Linked DNA regions of Homo sapiens: region 1 is linked to region 2. Evidence: promoter capture Hi-C in 16 types of primary human blood cells and fetal thymus (Javierre and others, 2016). All regions are on one chromosome and are shown on one strand. The core of a region is centred on a gene start or on the middle of the fragment in contact, and the rest is flanking DNA. Distances in the headings are between cores, read along the strand shown. Region 1 holds the start of PODXL (podocalyxin like). Region 2 holds the start of AKR1B1 (aldo-keto reductase family 1 member B).

Evidence for each region. Contacts are between HindIII fragments. The CHiCAGO score rates a contact against its expected background, and 5 or more counts as called.
Region 1: a contact is called between the fragment with the promoter of PODXL here and the fragment with the promoter of AKR1B1 in region 2, in 2 of 17 cell types (endothelial precursors and activated CD4 T cells). The highest score is 6.3, in endothelial precursors.

Annotation. Positions count from the first base shown.
Region 1 is chr7:131,552,820-131,559,315 of GRCh38, reverse strand. PODXL (podocalyxin like) reads left to right here and starts at 2,688. Exons shown (of 9, transcript NM_001018111.3): 1 at 2,688-3,056. The coding sequence starts at 2,957. RefSeq lists an enhancer at 1,753-2,300 and silencers at 2,268-2,387, 2,418-2,477, 2,558-3,067. The HindIII fragment of the contact is 4,965 bases long and covers 1,063-6,027 here.
Region 2 is chr7:134,457,774-134,465,014 of GRCh38, reverse strand. It overlaps AKR1B1 (aldo-keto reductase family 1 member B), which reads left to right and starts at 5,915. Exons shown (of 10, transcript NM_001628.4): 1 at 5,915-6,018. The coding sequence starts at 5,953. RefSeq lists an enhancer at 1,350-1,850 and a silencer at 6,116-6,305. The HindIII fragment of the contact is 6,251 bases long and covers 3,222-7,241 here.

The sequences.
Region 1 (6,496 bases), core at 1,439-3,938, 2.9 Mb after region 2:
GACCAACATGGAGAAACCCCGTCTCTACTAAAAATACAAAATTAGCCGGGTGTGGTGGCAGATGCCTGTAATCCTAGCTACTTAGGAGGCTGAGGCAGGAGAATTGCTTGAACCTGGGAGGCGGAGGCAGCCTGGGCAACAGGAGCAAGACTCTGTCTCAAAAAAAAAAAAAAAAAAAAAAAAGTGATGTGCTGTTCTTGGTGGTCTGAGTAAGTAAAGGATGAATAAGAAAGACGCCATGTTAAAGAAGCTGAATGTCTGCTAGGAGAGCTAACGCATGTATACAAATAACCAAAATGCAACAAATCCCAGAAGGAATGATCCTGCAGAAACTTCCTGATGAAAAGCTTCAAAAACAGCACCCATAAAGTGCTTTGGGTTTCAAATATAAGCTCAGGTGTTCTGGGCTGGCGAGCTTGCTAGTTAGAGCACAATGCTAAATGGGGCCAAAGGCACAGGCCAGTTACCTGGGGGTAGCTCATCTCAGTGGCCACCAGTGACCTCAAAACCCAGCCAGCCTCATTCCAGAAAGCCACGTTGTGCATAAGTTGAGGGGGGCTGTTGGATACTGGGGAGAGTCCAGCACAATTGTAACTTTTCTATGTCTTCTCTAAGCCCAGATGTCTGCTCTCATTTTAATTTTGCATGATCTTGTAATGGCACCAATCCCAAATCATGTGAATTTAAAATGCCCTAAGCTTCAAAATATACGCTCTCTCTTTATAAAGTTAACATGATTGCTTCTGAGTTTTTAGATAAATTGAATGATTGAGTGCAAAAACACTGTTTAAATCAGAGTGCGATACACATTTTTTAAAATCCCAGTGTAAAAAAAAATATATATATATATTGCTTGGTTTCAGAAGAGAAACAAGCCTTTTGTTGACATGATATCAGGGGAACAGTACTAAAAAAACATCAAAGATAGTCACACACACAAATATCCCAGAGTATTCATAGGGAACACCCTCTGTCTTTCCCATATGCGGTGTGGAAAACGGGGCCAGAACGATCCTGCAGAAACTTCCTGATGAAAACAACCCCGTCAGCCCTTCCCAAGCTTGAGGCCGGCTGCCACGGAACCCCAGCCAGGGCTCCAGCGCTTCCTTCGCGGCTCCAGGGACGCAGTGCCCTGCAGGCATCGCCTGCTTGCAGCCGACTTGAGGGGCTCACGGAGTCCCCTGTGCCCGGGACGCGGCTAGATCCTGGAGAAAACCCCTCCACCCAGCCCCATCTGGCAGATAGACTCCAGATTAGCAACCCCGGAGTCACGTGAGCCAAATTTACGCCGTACCCGGGTTCCAAGGTTAATCACCCCTCGCCCCCTCCGCTTCCCGGCTCCGCCGATGTGCCTCCTCTTCAGGCGGGCCTGGGGTCTGCGTCTCCCAGGCAGCTTTGGGGGTGGAAAAAAGGAGGGGAGCGGGGGAGGGGAAAGGAACTTCTTTGTTCTTTCACCGGATAAACTCAGTTTACGGAATTCTCCAACACCCACTCCCACCCCCAGTGTGCAAATATCTCTGATCCTCACTTGGAGGGCGAACTACTTCATTCATTGAGACTTTTGTGTTCCTGGCCCTAGGCTAAGTATTATCTTGTAAGATCACATTTAAGTTTCCCAACAACCCCCTGAGGTAGGTGTTATTATCCCTATTTTACAGATAAAAAGAAATGAGGTACTGAGAATAGCTTGCCTAGGGTTTTACAATTAATAGATTGGCACAGTTAGGTTTTGAGCCCCAGCCTGTTTTGACCCAAAAGCCCTAATCTTTATAGCTGTTCTTTATATAGCAGGAATAAGAGTAATAACCACTCCTTGCAGAGCAATTACTATATTCCAGGCACGGTGCACGGTATTTCTCCAAACTTCTCTCAGAGGCAGGTTTGCCACTTACCCGTTATGTGGCCTCAGGAAGTTTCTTAACCTCTTTTTGACTCAATTGCCCTGTCTGCAAAATGAGGCTAAAAATATGGTTGTCATGAAGAGTAAAAGAATTAATATATGTAAAGCCTGGCACACATTCATCCCTGAAATTGTTGTTGCTGTTGTTTTTTAACCATCATCTCCATTTCACAGGTAAGGAACCTACCCTTGGAGAGGTGAAGGAGTGAATTAGTCCAGCTTGCCCGCTGCACACCTAGCTGCAGAGAGACCCCGCTCAGAAGCCGTGCGGGATGGGGGCCCCACAGGCAGGTGAATTGCACTTGGCAGGTGGGAGATGAGCTTCTCCGGGGTCGCTGCAGAACGCGCAGCAGCCCGGGAGGCCGTGAATGGTTATCAGTTACCACGCAAGGCTGGGGGTCCGCCCGCTCCGGATTTGCTCGTAGTGCGAGGGCCCCGGCGGTGTGCTGGGGGATCCCGCCGGGCCCACTTAGAAGCACTCGGGGGGACACACCTGTTCGGGACACCTGTGGACGGGGCCCGGCTGCACCGCAGGAGCCCCCCGCCCTGGCCCCCGCGCACACACAGCCCCCCAAGGCGCGGAGGCCGCCGGCCCTCCCGCCCGTCGCGCTCCAGGGCGGAGTTTCCTCCTCTGCTCATTGTTCACGGCCCAGCGCCCGCCCAGCCCCGGCCCCGGCCCCGCCCGGCCCGGCCGCCGCCGCTGGCGGGCTCCTGGGGGAGGGGGAGGGGCGGGGGCGGGGGCGGGGGCCGGCGCTGACGGGACGGGCCAGGAGTAGCCGCAGCCGCCAGTGGGGCCGCAGCCGCGCAGACGCCGCCCAGGACGCAGCCGCCGCCGCCGCCGCTCCTCTGCCACTGGCTCTGCGCCCCAGCCCGGCTCTGCTGCAGCGGCAGGGAGGAAGAGCCGCCGCAGCGCGACTCGGGAGCCCCGGGCCACAGCCTGGCCTCCGGAGCCACCCACAGGCCTCCCCGGGCGGCGCCCACGCTCCTACCGCCCGGACGCGCGGATCCTCCGCCGGCACCGCAGCCACCTGCTCCCGGCCCAGAGGCGACGACACGATGCGCTGCGCGCTGGCGCTCTCGGCGCTGCTGCTACTGTTGTCAACGCCGCCGCTGCTGCCGTCGTCGCCGTCGCCGTCGCCGTCGCCCTCCCAGAATGGTGAGTGGCCGGCCTGGGTTCCGCCGGGACTCCCACCGTGCCCATGTGCCCCCTGCCCGGCCGAGCTGCAGGGAAGCCCGGCGCGCCGCGTGGTCCGACCCCGAGCAGCCCTATCACCGCCGGGGTCACACACGGAGCCCTGACCTTGCACCATCCACGCCCCCTCCAAACTCCGCAGCGCGGCAGGTGCAGGGCCTGGGCGTAGATTCGTCTCCACTCTCCACTCGGGAGGAGTGGGCGGTGGATTCTGCCCGGGCAAACAGGGGCGCGCCGGTGCTAAGTGGGTTTGCATGGGAAAGAAAAGGGAGACCGCACCGCGAGGCTCCACGCTTCTGCGGGACTCTCGGGATCTGATTACACCTTTCCTTCGTGTTGGAGGGAATGAGGGGCTGTAGTGTGTATTCGTTAATTCCAGGCAAAGAGGCAGGCGAGAGGCTCCCGAGGAAGTCCCTGAAGCAGGTGACAAGCCTCCAGCCACGGCCCACGCGGGCGATGTACTTACCCGTTTGCAGAGGTTTTTTCTAAGTAATGTGTGCAGGCTCAACTCCTTGAGCCCGTGCTGGGGCAGGTACAGAGTCGTAAGTGGACCTTCCACAGTCCCAGAGTCACCTGGCTGAGTGGGGGTCCTACCTCCGTGTCCCTAAAACAATCGCTTCTTAGTGCGTGGCTACGATGGTGAGACCCCCCTCGAATCCTCTTGTTCAAACGGGAACTTGTTCAAACGGGAACTTCTCTCTCGTAGAATAGGATTGGGCTGCATTTTAGACACACCTTAGAAAATGTACCTGTCTCTCATGAAACACCTGCACCTCAGAAACATCCCCTCCCTGTTTCTTTTCAAGGTGAAATGTTACTCTTTCCCTTTTGGGGGACAGGCGATGGCTGCAAACTCAACCAGAACAGGTGTTCTTAAGCCCCTAGGGAACAGCCAGAGTCAGCTCAGCCCCACGGGAGAGGTGCATTTCTCATTCTCTTTTGCCCACCTGAGCACATGTCTGCAGGAAGAGCTGAGGTGGTGTGATCACCCTAGGGCCAGGAGGACTGCGGGGACAGCACAGACAGGGTAGGGATTCTGCTGTGAGCAGGTGCCGGCAGTTTGGGACTGGACTCTAAGGGGCCAGGGGAGATGGAAGGGCAGTACAGTCTCTCCTCTGCACCGCAGGAAACCTTTGGTAGTGGGCAGGCGCTGGCACTCAGGGAGCAGGCAGGCGTGGGCATCCTCCTGTGGCCGGCGGGAGACTCCACCAGCCTGACTAGAAAGGGAAGGTCCCGGCGGGGGGAAGAATGTGTGTCCCTGGAAGAGGGGCTGCAGTGTGAGGAACAGTCAGAACAGCTTTCAGAGTGGCAATCACTGAAGAGCCACACGACATGCAGGGTTGAGATGACACGAGAGTATGGTGGCTCCTTAGCCCTACTCTGGGGACAGCTGGACTTCAGGGTGGGCCTTCATACGAACCTTTTGTTGGGAAGCCTCTTAGAACCACCCAGAAGGGCGTTGGGCTGTGTCAGGAAAGAGGGGTTAGTCCCTAGTGCTTCTGAGCTTAAGGAAGCTGAGCCACCCTTCCTTTGAGGAGTGGGAGGCACTGTGGGACAAGACCCTCCCTGTCTGCCCTAAAAGGAAATGTTCATAAGTCACCAGTGGGCAAAGCTCTGACTCCAGCTCACTGCTGGCTTCAAGGATGGCACTGTTTTTCCTGGCACCTGGGCACTGCCAGAAACCATGTCTCTTCCATGAAGCACCACTTCTGGCCTAACACAGGGTTTGGCACATGGCAGAAGTTTGGTATGTGGCAAACAAAAATGACCATAACCCAGTGCCTGCTCTAACCAGCAAGTAACTTGGCCTATCTGAGCACTGTATGCATTATAGTATGCAGCACTGTTGGGAAGCACTTAGAAAAGTGCAAAGTGCTAAGTGGGGGATGGGGAGAGGATGATGATCATGATGGTGATGATGATTTGCATGTATTGAGGCCAGAAAAGGCTTGTGGGGGGCATGTTGCGGCAAGATTGGTCTGTTCAGTAGCTATGGTGCATTCTACACCACCCTCTAGGGACTCAGTAAGGCCAGCTCCATCCCTGTCCTTCTGAAGGTGTGGTCGCCTGGGCTGCTGTCATCGGGAATAGCATAAACACTGCCCCCCATCTGCTGGAATCCTGTGATTTGATTCAAAGCAAGAAAGATTTATAGCTCGAGTCTCTGCAACAAAGGAATTATCCCCAGACAGGTCCATCCCTGCCCCTCTCCCCCAGCTTACCTTCCAATATATGGGCAGATTATGCAGCCTACAGCAAAGAAAGCATTCACCTTAAGGGTTGGACAATTCATCAGACCCCCTTTCAGTGCTTTTTGGTTTGATAACCATCTGGCAGAACCACAATGGTAAGTCACATCTCCGTGCCTCCGTTTCGTTATTTGTGAGATAGAATAAAAGAACCAAAGGGACCTCTAGTTCCACCATGATAAGATATCTGGGGTTCCGTGTTCCCTCAGCTACTGAAAGGACAAGCTGATTCAGTACTCTCAATCTGATGTTCAATGGATGAATTCTGGGCAACAGAAAGGCAGCTTGGTGGGGTGGAAACACTCAGACTTTGGGTCAGAGAGATGTGCATGACCATGGACAAAATAGTGGACCTCCCTGAACCTCAGTTTCTTCATCTATAAAGTAATAACAGCCCTACCTTGTGGGTTGCTATGAAGATGAGCGAGTATATATATCATGGGCTTGGCTTTACGCCCAACTCAGGATCAACACTCAAAAAATAGCTATGATGATTAGTAAGCATATATATTGAGCACCTGGTGGGTTTAAGGGACCCCAGGCATTGGGATCCTGCCAATGTTTGTGGGTATCAGTGGATATATGATAATAAAAACTGAAGCCCCAGTGCCACTCTGTGGGAGAGGGAGGCATATGGAAAAGAGTATAAGATTTGGAAGGGGTGGTCTGGAGGTCTGGAGAAAGCTTCCTGAAGGAGGTGGGGTTTTCACATAGGGATTTTAAAATTAAAAGGGTCAGTGTTTCCTAATGTGGCTGAGGCTCTATGAATTGTAGTGTGTAGGGGAGATGCAGATTAGGGTCGGGGAGTCTGTGATGGTGGTTCTTGAGATGGAGTCATTGAGGCTTTGGGGAGATTAGCTCTCAGAACTGGAGAGAAAATTCCACGGTGGCAGGGTGTGGCTGCTCACGCCTGGAATCCCAGCAAATTTGAGAGGCCAAGGTGGGAGGATCACTTGAGCCTAGGAGTTCAAGACCAGCCTGGGCAACCTAGTAAGACTGTACTAAAAAGACAAAAAAATTAGCTGGGCATGGTAGTGGCACACGCCTGTAGTCCCAGCTACTCAGGAGACTGAGGTAGGAGAATTGCTTGAACGTGGGAGACAGAGGTTGCAGTGAGCCAAGATCACGCCACTGCTCTCCAGCCTGGGCAACAGA
Region 2 (7,241 bases), core at 4,666-7,165:
TTGGCCAGGCTGGTCTCAAACTCCTGACCTCAAGAAATCTACCTGCCTTGGCCTCCCAAAGTGCTGGGATTACAGGCACGAGCCACTGTGCCTGGACTTATTTCATTAAATAAGTTTTCTATATCATTTCCTTTATACTCTCCTTCTGTAATACCATAATGCAAATATTTGTTTGCTTAATGGTGCTTCATAACTCCTGTATGCCTCCTTTTTTCTTTTTATCTTTTTTGTTGGTTTGCTTGTTTTATTTCAAATGACCTATCTTTTAAGTTCAGAAATTCTTTCTTCTGCTTGATCTCATCTGTCATTGAAGCTCTCAGTTGTATTTTTATTTTATTCATTGAATTCTTTAGCTCTAGGATTTCTGTTTGGTTCTTATCATTGTTGAATTTCTTATTCAAATCATGAATTGTTTTCCTAATTTTGTTGAGTTTTCTATCTTTATTCTTTTTTATTTCATTGAGTTTCTTTAAGATTATTATTTTGAATTCTTTTCCTGGCATTTTGAGTATTTCCTTATTATTGCAATTTGTTACTGGAGAATTACTGTGTTCCTTTGGAAGTATTATGTTTCCTTGCTTCTTCTTGTTTGATGTGTCCCTACACTGATTTCTACACATCTGGTGGAACAGTCACTCCTTCCAATTTCATGGAGTAGGTTTTATATGGAAAGACTTATTCTCATAGATCGGTCTTGGGGAGTAGCTTCAGGGCAGTGCGTTGGCTTTGTTTCTAGGTGCATGCAGTAGTGTAGCATCTGCATAGTTTCTTCAACTATAATCTATCCTTGCAATGTTTATGAGTATCTCGGTGTCCTAGGCTGAGAGATTTTGTGGCAGTGGCAGTGCAGCTTTGCCATGGTGGTCTTGCCAGGCCTTTCTCATGTCTGAGTGCATGTGTGGCCACATTGGGTTGGCCAACTTTGGGTCTGGCTCTCTGTGATTTAGTGCCATGGGGCTGTTTCCCAAGCCTGGGGGTCAGGTGTGTGGCTGCTTTGATGGCCCGCCTGCTTGCCTTCTAAGGATTGCCTATGGGGCTATCTCCCAGGCCCAAGATATGAGTGCATGGCTGCTTGGCTGCCTGGAAGTGTGTTTGCCAGGGCAATCCACAAGGCCATTTCTCAGGTATGGGATGCAGCCACACACCTTCTTGGCTGGCCTGGGTGCATGTCTGCTGGGGGTGGCCAACAGGGCTGTTTCTCAAGCGTTGACTGCACATGCAGGTCCTTTGGGCAGGTCAGCAGCATGTCCATGGTAGGGGTGTGGTCCCATGCTGCTACTGTGTCTTAGGCCCTGGGCATGGGCACACAGCTGCTCTGTGGGCCCAGTGGCATGTCAGCTGTTAGGTGGATCAAGGACCTCTCTCACTTGGGAGAGGGTGTGCAGCAGTTTAGCTGGCTTAAGGGTAGGCTCTCCTCAGACAAGACTTCCAGAGTCTTCCTCCAACTGTAAAACCAGACAGTGTAGGTTGGTTTCACTGCTGTGCAGGACCAGAGTCACAGGCAATTCTGGGCCCAGAATCCATGCAGCTGGAGTTGTGGGATTCAGCCACCTATGGGCTTCACACAGCTACTCAGTCAGCTTCTCAAGTTTCTCCAAGCCCTGGTTGTGAATGCGAGGCAATCCAAGGGTGTGTTCATGGAGGGAGTAGGTGCTACAGGCCTGTTTTTCAGGCCCTGTACATCTGCATATGGCCACTCTGCTGGCCTGGGGGCAGGCATGTCAGCTGTTTGATGGGCTAGGGACCTCTCCTGCTTGAGGGAGGACACACAGCCATTTGGCTGGCTTAAAGGAAGGTTCACCCTGGGTGAGACTGTCAGACTGTTCCTCCAGCTGTATTGCAGATGACAGGGGTTGGTTTCACTGTGGTGCAGGACCAGAGTCATAGCCAATCCTGGGCCCAGTCTTTGTGCAGTTGGCCCACATGTGGGCTTGGTGGAATGAAGATGGAGCCCCAGTGCTGGAGAAGTGCAATGGCTACGGCCCCCAGAGCAAGGCACAGTCCAGAAATGGCTCTAATCTCAAGATGGCGCCATGCTGCAGCAGCTTGGCTCACTAAGGGAAGGGTGTGTACACACCCTGTGCTCCTAATCCGGAGTGATACAGCTATATGGATTCCCAGAAGCTCTTCAAACTGGGCACGGGGCTTGCAAGGACTGTGGGATTATTTTGTAATGAGGACTGGAGTCATTTACAGTGGCAATGGAGACTGGTGAGGTTCTTTTACCTTCTCCCTAAAAGGGGACTTCCCTCCTGTCTCTGGGCTGATGCAATTGTGGCAGGCAAGATGGGGCTACAGAGGCCATGTGCCTCCATGGTACTCTCTTGGGCTTCCAATCACTACAAGTACCCCTTTACTCCCCCATTGCACTTTAATGCTCTTTTTTCATAATTGCAGTTAAATATTAGCGGTTTATTTATTCCCTTGGTCCTTTCTTATGGTGGGGACAAGAACTAGGCATTTCTAGTCAGCCTTCTTCCTGACGTCACTCATTCCAAAATTCTTAGTGTGAGTCACAGTTTAAAAATTTGAAAGCTACTGGTAGTGGTTAAGAGTTTGAGTGCTATAGTCAAATTCCTAGGTTTAAATATTGACCCTAACATTTACTTAATGTGAGATCTTAGCAATTTTTCTCACTTCTCTGCATCTCAGTTTCTTCACGTGTAACATGGATTGATCATAGTATCCATGAAAGGGGTGGTTATGAAGATTAAATGATTTAATGTACATAACTCAATAGATATATAAGCAGCAGCAGCAGCACCTTCATATAACATATGCCAAGTGCTGAACCATAATACAGTGTCCAAACCATAATAAAGACTCAGTAGTGGTTTGTCGTTGTGGAAGAGACTTCTGTTGCTCACCATACCCATTCACTTCTGTTTTCTGGCATACAGGAGGATGACACTTCCCCATCCCATTGAAGATAGGCCTGGCTGGGCTCTACCACCAGATCTGGTTAAAGGATTATAGGTAGAAGTGATGTGTGCCACTTCCAGGACTGAGCAATTGATTGCTCATTTGAGACTCTTAGGTTCTCTTTTGCCTTCCTAAGCCAAACCCTGAAACCTTGGGTTGGGACAGCAGGGAAACAATGTGGTGGGACCTCCATAGCTTGAGTCCCTGAGTGACAATGTGAACAGAGCCTACTGTCACCCTCAGCTCCACCAGCTTGTGTTGGACATGTAGCATATAACCTTTGTTTGTTTATAGAAGCTTTATTGATGTATAATTTACGTACCATATGATTTACCTTTTTAAATATGCAATTGGGTGGTTTTTTTGTATATTCAAACTTGTACCAGATCTCGCAGGGCCTTGAATGCCAGGCTCAAGAGTTTAGGTTTTATCCTATGGGAATTGGACAGTTCATAAGAAGTTGTCTTTTAATTCAAAATGTGTTCATTAAGGAAATAATCTGACAAAGAGTATTCCCCATTTCCTTCTGTCTTCTTCCTAAATTTCCTAAATGTTATAGGTTGTATTTTCCTTCTTAGCATCATTCCATAGCTATATGACTTTGTTTTCTACTTTCACCTTAACATTACCTCATATACATTTTTCTCTGTGTCTTTGTCATCTTTACTTTTGATGGCTACACCTTATCTCTTGCTATTGTTGGATATTTACAGTTTTACTTTAAGTATACAGCATTTTAAAAATACATACGCATATGTGTATATCTGTGTGCAGGCCTGGGACTAAGGGAAGGCAAGTGCCAAGGACATAAATGTAAAAAAGCTCCTACCTTCTGGCATGAAAATTTGTACCTGTGTACCTCATTTGTCTTACCTTGGTCCCAGCCCAGCCCTATACCTAGTGTGTGTGTGTGTGTGTGTGTGTGTGTGTGTGTGTGTGTGTGTGTGTGTTTTCCTTTTAAATTATTTCCTTAGGAAAAATTCCCATGATGGGAGATTACTGGTTCAGAGCATGTTAAGATTCCAATTACTAGAGTGTTTCTCAGGAGGATTCCATTGAAGGTTTTTTTCCCTTTTTCAAACAAAATTTTGATATGTATACTTATCAAAAGATGGGAGATCAAAAATCTTGAGATCAAAAATTTTGGTATGTGTACATTTTACAAAGATTACAGAGGCAATGGGGGATGTTAGGGGGCTATCACAATAGCATGTCCCAACTAGAGTGCTATTGTTGCTATAGAAATTCCACTGATACAACTTTTCATGTCTGCATGGCCCAGCCAAAATATTCTGGGTTTATTTATTTATTTTACAGACAGGGTCTTGCTATGTTGTCCAGGCTGGTCTCTAACTCCTGGGCTCAAGCAGTCATCCCACCTCAGCCTCCTGAGAAGCTGAGACTACAGGTATCACTCCAGCTTTAGACACAGTTATAACTTCATGCAATCAAGCTGTATACTCAATTATTATCAAACCAACAACAAAGCCTCTGATATTGAGTCCATGTCCCTAACAGACGACCCTTCTGTGTGTACCAACCTGGCCACTCAAGGTGTATCATTTTCACAAGAGATTAGCTCTTTGGATTTGGACCCAGGAGGTTCAATTGGCAGAGCAACCTCCAAGTCAAGAGGACTCTCATGGAGGAAGGAACTTGCTGTTTTACACAAAGCAAGTTCCCAGCTTTAGGCTCAAGTTCAAATTCTATTACTTGGGGACAAATGAATTTGCCCAATAGCAACAATTTTTACAAAAGTTACATGGAAAAATATCTGGGCTAGTCTGTTCTGTATAAATTTTTCCAGGAGGGAGCACTTTTAAAGAAAGCACCAAATGGAAAATCACCGGCATGGAGTTTAGAGAGACCTGGTGCTTGAGTCACTACCAGGCAGATGGAGTTCCCAATCTTGCATAATTAGGGGAAAGATCGGAGGGTGATGGAGCAGAAAGAGCAGTTGGGGTGAGGTAGAGTATCATGAAGAGAGGTTGTTGGAAAGAAACCAAAATTGTCTTCAAGGATCTTCAAGTGACTTTTCTTAGGCTATCTTGGAAAAATGTGTGTTTCTACCTGCCAATTAGGGTGATCAATTTACTATTTTGTACCTTCTAATTTGAAATACTGGAAGCTACAATATTAGAGTCAACTTTTTCTTCTGTGGTTTTCTGTCTGTTCACTTTTCTTCCTCTAGAGAGTTTTGATAAGTTACTGTACTGGAACTTACTGCTTTGATAGAGTCTCACTTTCCAAAGACTGATGAAATTTGTCTTACTGATTCTGAATGGACAGCCTTACTTTCCAAATTCTTCTGAGAGTTCTGGATCAAGCCCATCAAGGCTTTCTAACCTCAAGAACATCAAAGGATGCTGGCTTTTGGTGGAAGGCTTGCTGAACCACACCTAGTATGCACAGACACAGCTAACACCTAGAGTGGGGTGCAAAGAGAGATCTAGAAGGCTACAAAAAGTCTGGGCAAACCCATATTTTGTGAAGGTGCTTTGCAAAAGGATTGCAAGCCATTTTTCTGGCATGCACCTTTGTCTAAGAACAAAGTGCGGTAAACTATATGTGTAGTCAGTATGATTCACATAGATTAAGGACAAGGTATTCGTCAGATTCCCAAAGAGCATCAAACTGGGGTTGGACAACAAAGGCATTCTTCTGGGCTCTTAATGAAACCAAAACTTATTTCTAGTCTATGTATTTATGGGATGCCTGTTATTTTCGCTAAAGCATTCGCTTTCCCACCAGATACAGCAGCTGAGGAACTCCTTTCTGCCACGCGGGGCGCGGGCGAGCGTTGGGGGCGGAAAGAATCCGCTGCCACTAGGACCAGGCGGAAGAAGCATCCCCGCCGACCCTTGGGGAAGGCCGCCGCGGCACCCCCAGCGCAACCAATCAGAAGGCTCCTTCGCGCAGCGGCGCGCCAACCGCAGGCGCCCTTTCTGCCGACCTCACGGGCTATTTAAAGGTACGCGCCGCGGCCAAGGCCGCACCGTACTGGGCGGGGGTCTGGGGAGCGCAGCAGCCATGGCAAGCCGTCTCCTGCTCAACAACGGCGCCAAGATGCCCATCCTGGGGTTGGGTACCTGGAAGGTAGGTGCTCGTGGGGGCGCGGGCCCGGGGCTCGCCTCACACTCTCCGCGCGGCCTGTATTGGCGAGGGACCCCGAGTGACCCTGAGCAGCTCGCCCCGCGGACGCCCGGCGTGCTGGGAGCCACGCGCGGGCTTGCAGGGTCCCCAGCGGGCTGGGGTCGGCCTTGCAGAGACCGGGGGCCTTGGCTCCCCGGGTTGGCCCTGGGCGTCAGGGCAGCATCCTGCGAGTGGGGTTTGGGAGCAGCTCACGGGAGCCCCCGCCCTACCGCGGGCAACCCTTGATGGGCGGCCCACCAGTCCGCATTTTGGGTCCTAGCGGGCGCCCCAAGCGGCACAACGCGAGAGGGAGGCGGGGAAAGTGGGCTTCACAGACCGGTGGACCTCGGGCGCAGACAGGGACGTGGAGCCGTCGGCAAGGTGTGGGAGCGCAGACCCAGCCTCCTTTCCCTCGAGGCACCTGTAGCCCGGTTGCCTCACTTGTAAATAGTTGGTCTCAATCGTTTCGATTCTTGCCCTCCCTGAGGAATAAGCATCTCAAGCCGGTAGAGGGCAGAGAATTAGGTGGCGCGAGTTTGCCCGGACCCAGCTGTTAACAAGGCGCAGTGCGGAGCTCCTCGGCCAGGCGCCGCCTCGGGGTGCCCTGGGTCTGGAACTCGGGAGAAAAATCTGGGCACCCCGTAGCTAGTTGATAATTCAGGAGGCGCCAAGGTTAGCATTTTCCCTGTAAAACCTCAACACCACACAGCGTCCCCGAGAAGTGCCTAGCCGGATGAGAATGACAATAGGACATGAAACATCATAGGATATGAAAAATGATAATATGATATGAAAAACCAAAAATAATAGCCTGAGCCTGATTATCTGAAAATTGAGCAACAAAGGTGGTGGTATGGGAGCTGAGGCAAAACCTAGAATTTTTAACCTTCTAAGTATTGCATATTATATTCCACAGCCATAACCTGGGTTTCTCAGTTTCTGTTTTTGTTGTTTGCTTGTTTGTTTGTGACAGGGTCTCGTTGCCCAAGCTGGGGTGCAGTGGCACAATCATGGTTCATTGCAGCCTGGAACTCCTGGGCTCAAGTGATCCTCCTGCCTCAGCACTGCGGGTAGCTGGGACTACAGGCGCTCACCACCACACCTGGCTAATCTTTTTTCTTCCCCGCAGAGACAGTCTCCGCTTGTTGCTTAGGGTGATCTCCAATTCCTGGGCTCAAAGCGCTCCT